Linked DNA regions of Homo sapiens: region 1 is linked to region 2. Evidence: promoter capture Hi-C in 16 types of primary human blood cells and fetal thymus (Javierre and others, 2016). All regions are on one chromosome and are shown on one strand. The core of a region is centred on a gene start or on the middle of the fragment in contact, and the rest is flanking DNA. Distances in the headings are between cores, read along the strand shown. Region 1 has its middle 10 kb from the start of TRC-GCA9-3. Region 2 holds the start of ACTR3B (actin related protein 3B).

Region 1 (3,970 bases), core at 846-3,345, 3.1 Mb after region 2:
ACTTGGGTAAGCTCGTTTTCACCTCCTCAGCTGTGCCAAGGCCCCGCCTCTTCTCTTGTCACAGGAGCTGGTAAACTGTCCCTTCCTGTGAACTGTCTTTTCCTTCTACTGGAATTTTCTCCTTTACCCACAGGCCTTTTGCCTTGTAGCCCTGGCAGCCTTCTCAGAAGGCAGCAAAGCCAGCCACTCCTCTCCACTTCTGGTCCGAGGACCTGGGAAACACTGAATTCCACAGTGATTTCTATGATGTTAAATTCCTTCAAGGGACACACAGATGGTCACTTAAGTCCAGACCGCACTTTGCCCCACTGCTCACATCCTCCAGCACACACCATGGGACACACCATGAAAGCACTAGTTCCCCTAGGGGCCATATTGCCATGGAGATGACACCTCTGTCTCCTCAAACAGGAATAAGGCCCTTTTCCAAGGTAATCCGGGAGTAGCTCTTCCAGGCAACATGGCAGGGACTTGCCAACACATTGTTGTCTTGATAATAGAGGTAAATTATCATGCAGGGTGACCCGCAAAAAGGCCACAGTGAGAGAGGAAGCGGTGGTCTTCTACTGGGTCCCGTATCAAGTGGTGAAAGGAAGGCTGGACTCAGGGACATTTGCAGAATGATCTACTCCAATCTCCTCACTTTACATGTGAGGCAAGGGCTGACTGACTTGCCCAAGGGTCTCGACTGGTTAATGACAGAACTGACAGGTCTCCTGATTCCCAGTTCCCCCTACAATCTCCGTGGTGCACATGTCCCAGCCTAGACAAGGCTGGCTTTTTTTTTTTTTTAATCCAGGACATTACAGTGAAGCTAAGGAAGCTTCAGAGTGCCTTTCCTGCACCAGCTCTGTGCCTCCTTCTAAATTTGTAATTTTATGAGGCTTTTACTTAATAATGTTCTTCCTGATTACACAAGCTGCAGACCCATAAAACACGAGTCCACCCCTAGGAGAGGAGATGTGTTACTTGAGAGGGGAAGGAATCACGTGGAAGAGCTGAAGGGAAAAAAAAAAAAAAACAGGAAAAACCTGGGGCAGGTCCAGGGACATTCTCCTACAGCTCACGGGGTGAGTAGGGTGATTTTACCCTTTGTCGGATTTACTCCAAAAGACAAAATGATGCCAAAGGCTCCAGGCAGGAAATCTCTAAACCCCCTCATTTGAGGGACAATCGCCCAGAGATGAGAGGCATCAGAGAATAGCTAGGTTGTGCCTGCGACCCAAAGAAGCAAGTCGGACGCAGGAGCATCGGCAACACTATGAGTAAGGTCTTCGCCCACACGACTCCTGGGGCAATTCCATTTTTATACACTGAACGTACAGCCCACGCTGATGAAGAGAAACTAGGGGAGAATGTTCAGATCCCGGTCCCTAGGCCTGGCAAGCCCCATAGACCCCACATCACATGTCGCAGGTTCCCCAGCTGGAAAGAGCCCCACTCAGCCCAGGAATCTGAAAGGCAATGCGCCTCTGTAACCACGTGGGGGCCCCCGTCCAAGGCGCCCTCCATCCTCAGCCTCTTAAGGACTTTTAAATGTTTATTTTTCTCTCGTTTAAAAATACTATCCTTGTTATTGAAAAATAAAAACATGAATTGGGAAAATAAAATGCGTAAAAACGGCCTGTGCTCTATTAAAGAAAACTACTTAGTCTATGTTGACATTTGTATGCTTCCAAACTTTCAAAACTATAGATACACATATACACGGTATATAATACTACATATGATGTCATATATTGTTTTAAAGTGTTAATTTTAAAACAAAGACAGGATCGTTCTGGACAGGCTTTTTCTCTTAAAATATCATGAACATCTGTCCATACCAATTTCTTCCCCAAAATAATGTTCAATGATGGTATTGCGTTCCATTGCTCATGCCATTAAAAAATATTTACTGTAATAAACACATGGTAGAAAATGCTAAGTAGCATCTACCGGTATATTCCTATTGTTCGAAGTATTTATTCCACTTCAAACACAGATGGGGATGAGTTACAGCTGCCCCCCGAAAACAGCCCAAACCTCCAGGCCCAGGACCTCGGGCGGCAGAAGTGCCTGTTCGGCCGCGCCGGGGCCCAGCTGGGCGAGGGGGCCACACTGCCCGCGGTCACCGGGGAGGGCCCTGCCTGGAAGCCCCTGCTTGCCCGCGGGCGCGGCCAGGCGGGTCTTATGAGGGGGACTCTTTCGGTAACCGAGTCCCTCGGCCTGGGTCGCGGGGCCAGCGCAGTGACTGCGCGCGCACACGCGGCAGTCGGGGAAGGGGCGAGGGGTCGGCCAGGGGTCGCGGGGTCAGCTCCCGGGCGCGGGCCAGGCGGGGTCGCGCCTGCAGTTCGCCTCCGGAGCTGCAGGTGGGGCTGTGCGGCTGCCTGCCTCCAGGAAGCCTCATGTGCCTTCGTCGGCCGCGCCGGCTCCCAGGATACAGTGCGGACCGGCCGGGCGCTAAAGGCGTTGACGCAACTGCGGGCGGCGCAGGGCAGGGGCAGTCAGGGAGCAGCGGCGGCAGAGACAGGGCTGGGCGGGCGCCGCCTGCGGAGAGCACCGGGAGGCGGGCCCTGCGTGGGGCCGCGCGCAGCAGCGGCGACGACTTTATCTGGGCCGCGGGGGACAGCGCAGGGCCATGGAGGAGGCGGCCGCAGCTCCGGTAAGGGCGACCAGCGCGCGCACGAACTCGCGGCCTGGATTCCCCGGGCGACCCGGGCCCGGCACACGGGGGCTGCGGGAGCCGAGCCGTACTACCGCGCCTGGGGCTCCGGGGAACAGGGCCGCGGCGTCTGCCGGGGCCTACTGCGCTTGCCAGCCGGGCCCCCCACTCCGGGCCGAGCCCGAGCGCTGGCGGAACGGTTGTCCCCGCCCCGGGCCGCCCCACGCCAAGATCCTTGGCCCCTCCGGGGCTTCCTGCCCCCGCCCCAGCCGCTGAACCCTACATCTGCGTCCCCCCACCCGAGGCTCTTTTCTCTGCTTGGCGCTCGGCCTGTGGGTCCCTCCCCCAGCTCCCCCCAGCGGCTTAGTGGTACCTGGGAGTTGTGAGGCTTCGAATCCGCGTATACCGACACCCCTTACGTGCCCAGCTCCCCAGGGTCGGCGCGGAAGGGAATATAGAGCCAGGTACTGCACCAAGTCCTGTTGAGGCCTTAGTCTGTCCTTCTGTCCTCACAGCAAGCCTGTGGGATGGGTACTGGTGTTATCTCTGTCATGCAAAAGAAAAACCTGGGGCTTAGAGAAGTTAACTTGCCCAGGCTTGCACACCTGGAAGTGTGAAAAGACACACAGTGGCTGTGTGTTCAAGGACCAGGCAGGCAGGTACGCGGGCAATAATTGTGCAAAATAGGAAGGGGTGAGTGTTGGCGCCCAGGTGGAAGCTTGCGGTGGGCTCCGGGGGAAGGAGTGTCAGGGGGCCTCTTGGTACCGCTGTCCACCCCTCCTGGCCTGATGCTCTGCGCCTCTGTGATTTGAGCCGGGCTTTTAGGGACGGCTAGGATTTCAGGCCCAGCTAGACCGGTGGTGCTTTCAGGGAGGGAGGAGTGCCTGGGCAAAGGCGCAGAGAGACGGGACAGTGCAGGGCGTGTGCAGGCACAGAAAGGAGTCCATGAGCCTGGAGAAGATGGTTTTGGTTTGGAGGCAGTGGGAAAGGAGTCTGCAGAGAGAGACTAGGAAGGGGCTTGCATGCCAGGACTTCATCCTGCGGGTGGGCGGCCAGTGAGGGATCGGGCTCCTCTTACCATCAGCTCCTCTCAAGCAAAGAGTTTCGGCTTCCTGGCAGGAGTCCAAGGACAGCCCCACATATTCCAGCCACTTGTCAGTAAGAAGCTGGGCTGGAGTGAGCAGCGCACAGTCGACACCTCCCACCACATAGTGTGAAGGCCTTACACAGGGTTTCCTGGCCCCATCAGAATTGTGAGAAAACCATGTACTTTATTATCCATGAGTAAAAGACTAATATTTTCTTAATAAAGTAGTTTATGCAGAG
Region 2 (4,466 bases), core at 181-2,680:
ATAAAGAGCTACAAAGCTTGATATGACGTGTATTTCAAAAAGAATTCACACAAGCAAAGAGGATTTTTCCAGTCCACAACCACTTCTGGTCGCTTCAGCAGCAAAAGGAAGGAACTAACAGTAGGAGATGGACTGTAGCAAACTAAAGAAGGCACCCCCACAAGGTTGTCAAGGAAACCAAACCAAGTGCATTTTTCTATAGAAAAGAATCAAGGGTAAGGTGAACATGCCATGTTACATTTTGTGGCAAAAATGATTAAAATCCCTTCTTGAAAAAAATCGCTAAGAGACCAAATTTACTTCCAGGCTATTTTACTAAGCACTACACCCATAACGCAGGCAGGCAAGCTTGTATTCCCAAACTACCAGCTACATGGATTCAGCAATCACCTTACTACAACCAGCTAACTTGGGTCACCGATACTTCAGGGCATTTCCTAAGATCTCTTTTTAATAGCTTAACGGCAACGAAAGAAGTGGTCACACTCAAAAAGTTAAAAACAAAAACCTCTACCACAATTCCACAAACATGCTCTCCCAAATTTAGGGTATTTTTCAAAATGGAGTCTTTTTAAACACATCATTTTTCAGCGAAAAGGCAAATCTATGCAAACCAAAGGGACAGCTTGGCCTGAGTGTGCCATTTCATACTGGAAAAGCGCAGGGAGGGCAGTAAAAATGGTATCAAGTTGGGAGATCGATGCTATTCTCTCCACAAGTAGGTGGTAAAGAATCCTCAGCCAGGAGGAATGACACGCACACGCGGGGACAGAACGAGGGCCAGTGCTGAGAACGCTGGAAGGCAGGGACACCGTTCACTAGGAGATGAGTGACGTTAAAGGATCTGCAGTGATGATCTGTGCCTCACGCTGGCGAATATTCCTAGGAGGGGAGATCCCGCGCTCCCGGTGTCCCTCAGGGTGTCCACCCCGGCGACGGCCGGAGCCGGGCTGCGGGTCCAGGGGCCCGGCCACGTGGGCGGGGGAGGCGAGGAGCGCCGGGCTCGCTCAGAGTGGGCACCGCGTCCCTACCCTCCGTGCTTTTCCTCTTGTGGCCCTTCCCGGCAGGGAAGAGGGGGTTTTACGACGTCAAGGCAAGGCTTGGAGGGAAGCGGCGGCCGGCGCCCCACCTGCCCAGGTGATCGCGGGGCTCAAGCCCGGGGCGACGGACGCAGCTCGACCTCCAGGCGAGGTGGACGCCAGGGGCCGGGAGCGGGGCCGCGGAGGAGCGGGGGTGGGCGCCGAGCTGCTCTTACCCGGTGCCACAGTCCACCACGCAGGGAGGCAGGGAGCCTGCCATGCTCGGGACGCGCGGCGCTCGGCCCCGCCGGCAGCCCGAGAGCGCCCCGTCGCCGTCCGCTCCGCCGCCCGCTAGCCCCGCGCGCAGCGTCTCCCGCGAGCCGCCGCAGCGCCGCTGCCGGGAGCCCGGATGCTCGGCGGCCGACACGTGACGTCACTCCCCGGTCGGCCAATCAGAACGCGCGCACGCCCCGCCTCCCCCAACACCCCCACCCCCACTCCGGCGCGCCATCTTTAGTGCTGGCAGCGAGGCTTCTTGGCCCCATACGTCCAACCTTGCTGCTGGAGAGATTGGGGTTTATTTTTAACTGACTTACATGAACGTGACCCCATTTCCGAGGCCTGGCGCCTTTCTCCTCCTGTAAGTCTTCGCTCGAATGTCACCTTGCGAGGGAAGTTGTTCCTGATCACCCTGACTATGTCCCCTACCGGTACTGTATCCTCTGTCTCAACAATCTGTTGGTTTCATTCCTAACCCTTAAAGCAAAGTGTTTATATTTTTATATTTATGTATTTGTTGTCTGCCTCCCCTACTGGACTATCAAATCTTCTAGGATAGGGCTTGAGTCTGTCTTAATCACTATTGATGAGCAGCAGGTGCTTAGCACAGTATTTGGTGTACCTGTGGAAGTGCCCAAATGTTTGTTGAATGACTGAGTAACCTTCCCCATATAATAAAAAAAAAAAAAAAAATTAGTTGGAATTGGCCGGGCGCGGTGGCTCACGCCTGTAATCCCAGCACTTTGGGAGGCTGAGGGTGGATCACAAGGTCAGGAGTTCCAGACCAGCCTGGCCAACATGGTGAAACCCCTTCTCTACTGAAAATACAAAAATTAGCCGGGCGTGGTGGCGGGTGCCTGTAATCCCAGCTGCTCCGGAGGCTGAGGCAGGAGAATCGCTTGAACCTGGGAGGCGGAGGTTGCAGTGAGCCAAGATCGCGCCATTGCACTCCAGCCTGGACAACAGGGCGAGAGTCTGTCTCAAAAAAACAACAAAAAAAATTAGTTGGAATTATTATACCTAACACGGCCTAAATTTTTCTAAGAAGAAAAATCTGCAAAACAAATGCTTGGCCAGCCTTAAGGAATGAATGGCCTTAGACTGAGTAAACCACACCAAGATCACTCCTGGAAAATGTTTTCAAGTGTCGAAGATGGGATGATCGCCCAAAAGTTCTTACTGAAACCAAAGAAGGCAAACACCACCTACTATATTATAAAGGTACTGAGAGTCCCACTTGCCACTTGCTTCCTGCTTCTTGCCCGATCGTAAATTCTTGATACTAATTTTTTAGGAGCTTTCTGGAAACATGTATTTTTTTGTTTTGTTTTGTTTTTTGAGATGAGTCTCACTCTGTCGCCCAGGCTGGAGTGCAGTGGCGCAATCTCGGCTCACTGCAACTCCGCCTCCCAGGTTCAAGCAATTCTCCTGCCTCAGCCTCCCAAGTAGCTGGGATTACAGGCACCCACTACCATGCCCGGTTAATTTTTTGTATTTTTAGTAGAGACAGGGTTTCATCATGCTGGCCAGACTGGTCTTGAGCTCCTGACCTCGTGATCTGCCTGCCTCAGCCTCCCAAAGTACTGGGATTACAGGCATGAGCCACCACGCCCAGCCAAGACATGTTGTTTTTACAGGTACTTAAAACATTGTGTTTTTTACCTAGAAGTAATAGATACGTTGACCACTCCTAGGTAACCCATCATCATTTCTTTTTTTTAACTCATAAGTACCCATTAAGGCCCAGACCTAGAGAATGTTCAGGAGAACTGAAGAGAGAAGCAAATGGGAGGAAAATAAAAAGGAGTAAGTGTGGAGGAATCCCAGTTTAGAAGCCCAAGGCTGGGGTTAAAGATTGGCTGGCTTGCTTTGTGTTTTGCCAAAGCCCTGCCTTGGTCCCTTTTCTTTTTCTTTTCTTATTGCTTGTTTCTTAGAGACAGGGTCTCACTATGTTGCCCAGGCTGGAGGGCAGCGACTATTCACAGGCATGGTCCCACTACTGATCTGCATGAGAGTTCTGATCGGCTCCATCTCTGACCTGGGCCAGTTCACCCTTCCTTAGGCAACCTGGTGGTTCCCCGCTCCTGGGAGGGTGCCATATTGATGCCAAACTTAGTGCAGATCCATCATTCTGGGTGGCACAGAACTCCTGGGCTCAAGGGACCCTTCCACCTCAGCCTCCCGAGTATCTGGGACTACAGGCAAGTACAACTGCTCCCAGCCCAGCTCCCATTTTTTTCACGGCCCTAGCCTAAACATAGATTAATTCTAAATTACAGACTGTTGACACTGCCATGTCTTTTATTTTATTCACTTAACAAACATATATCAAGCGCCTACTGTGAGTCAGGCTTTGTGTTAGACTGAGCATGCAGCAGTAAACAGGATGTTCAGAGTATCTGCCCACAAGAGTCCAGTGGGAGATAGCAACAGTAAACAGGCAATTACAATACAGTGTAGTCAATGCTAAGACAGGGCAAGTCCAGGGTGCCCAGAAAGCCATAGAGGGGCTGACTTGGGAATCAGTAGAAACTTCTCAAAGCAATGATATTGAAGCTGAAACCCAGAAGGTGGGCAGAGTAGCTAGGTGGAGGAGACTGTAGGGTGGAAGAGTGTTTCTGGGATGGAAAACATGCACAAAGCCCAGGAAGAAAGACCTCAAGGCTTGTATAGGACCCAGCTACTACACCAGGGAAGAAGTCTTTACAGGAATTTGGGACTGGCTAGTAATAAAGGGTGTGCGATTTCAGGGAGCATCTTCTCTGCATAGGACTCATTGGGATTGATGGCCATGGTCAGCAGCTGGTAGAAAACAAAAGATTTCCTGACCTCAGTGATTTCCTCTAGATACCACTAACCCTTGATATATCAAAGGTGTTTTGTAGGCAGATAACAGAAAACCTAACTAAAAGTGGCACAAGGAAAGAGCAAATTTGTTATCTCGCACAATAGGAAATCCAGTGACTCCAGGATAATTTGACCATTCGATGGCATCATCATGGGCCTGTACGTTCAGCTCTGCCAGGGCCCTGCGTGTTGTCGTTTGTCCTCAGCTTATCCCATGCAGTGTTGAGACGGCTGCAGCCCCTCCATGCACCAAAATCATGATGGACAAAAACAGTGGAAGAAATGCCCCATCCTGATGCCCTTTCTCAAAGGCAGTGGGAG

What was found. The method cuts DNA at HindIII sites, captures the fragments that hold promoters and counts their contacts. A CHiCAGO score of 5 or more calls a contact.
Region 1: a contact is called between a fragment that was not itself captured here and the fragment with the promoter of ACTR3B in region 2, in 1 of 17 cell types (monocytes). The highest score is 9.1, in monocytes.

The regions. Positions count from the first base shown.
Region 1 is chr7:149,623,216-149,627,185 of GRCh38, reverse strand. It overlaps the pseudogene ZNF767P. Among named protein-coding and RNA genes, the nearest start is that of TRC-GCA9-3, 10 kb to the left of the region's middle. RefSeq lists silencers at 2,039-2,788, 2,809-2,908. The HindIII fragment of the contact is 2,539 bases long and covers 826-3,364 here.
Region 2 is chr7:152,756,716-152,761,181 of GRCh38, reverse strand. It overlaps ACTR3B (actin related protein 3B), which reads right to left and starts at 1,430. Exons shown (of 12, transcript NM_020445.6): 1 at 1,256-1,430. The coding sequence starts at 1,299. It also overlaps the pseudogene RN7SL845P. RefSeq lists enhancers at 579-628, 1,629-1,788 and silencers at 804-1,098, 859-1,378. The HindIII fragment of the contact is 7,028 bases long and covers 351-4,466 here.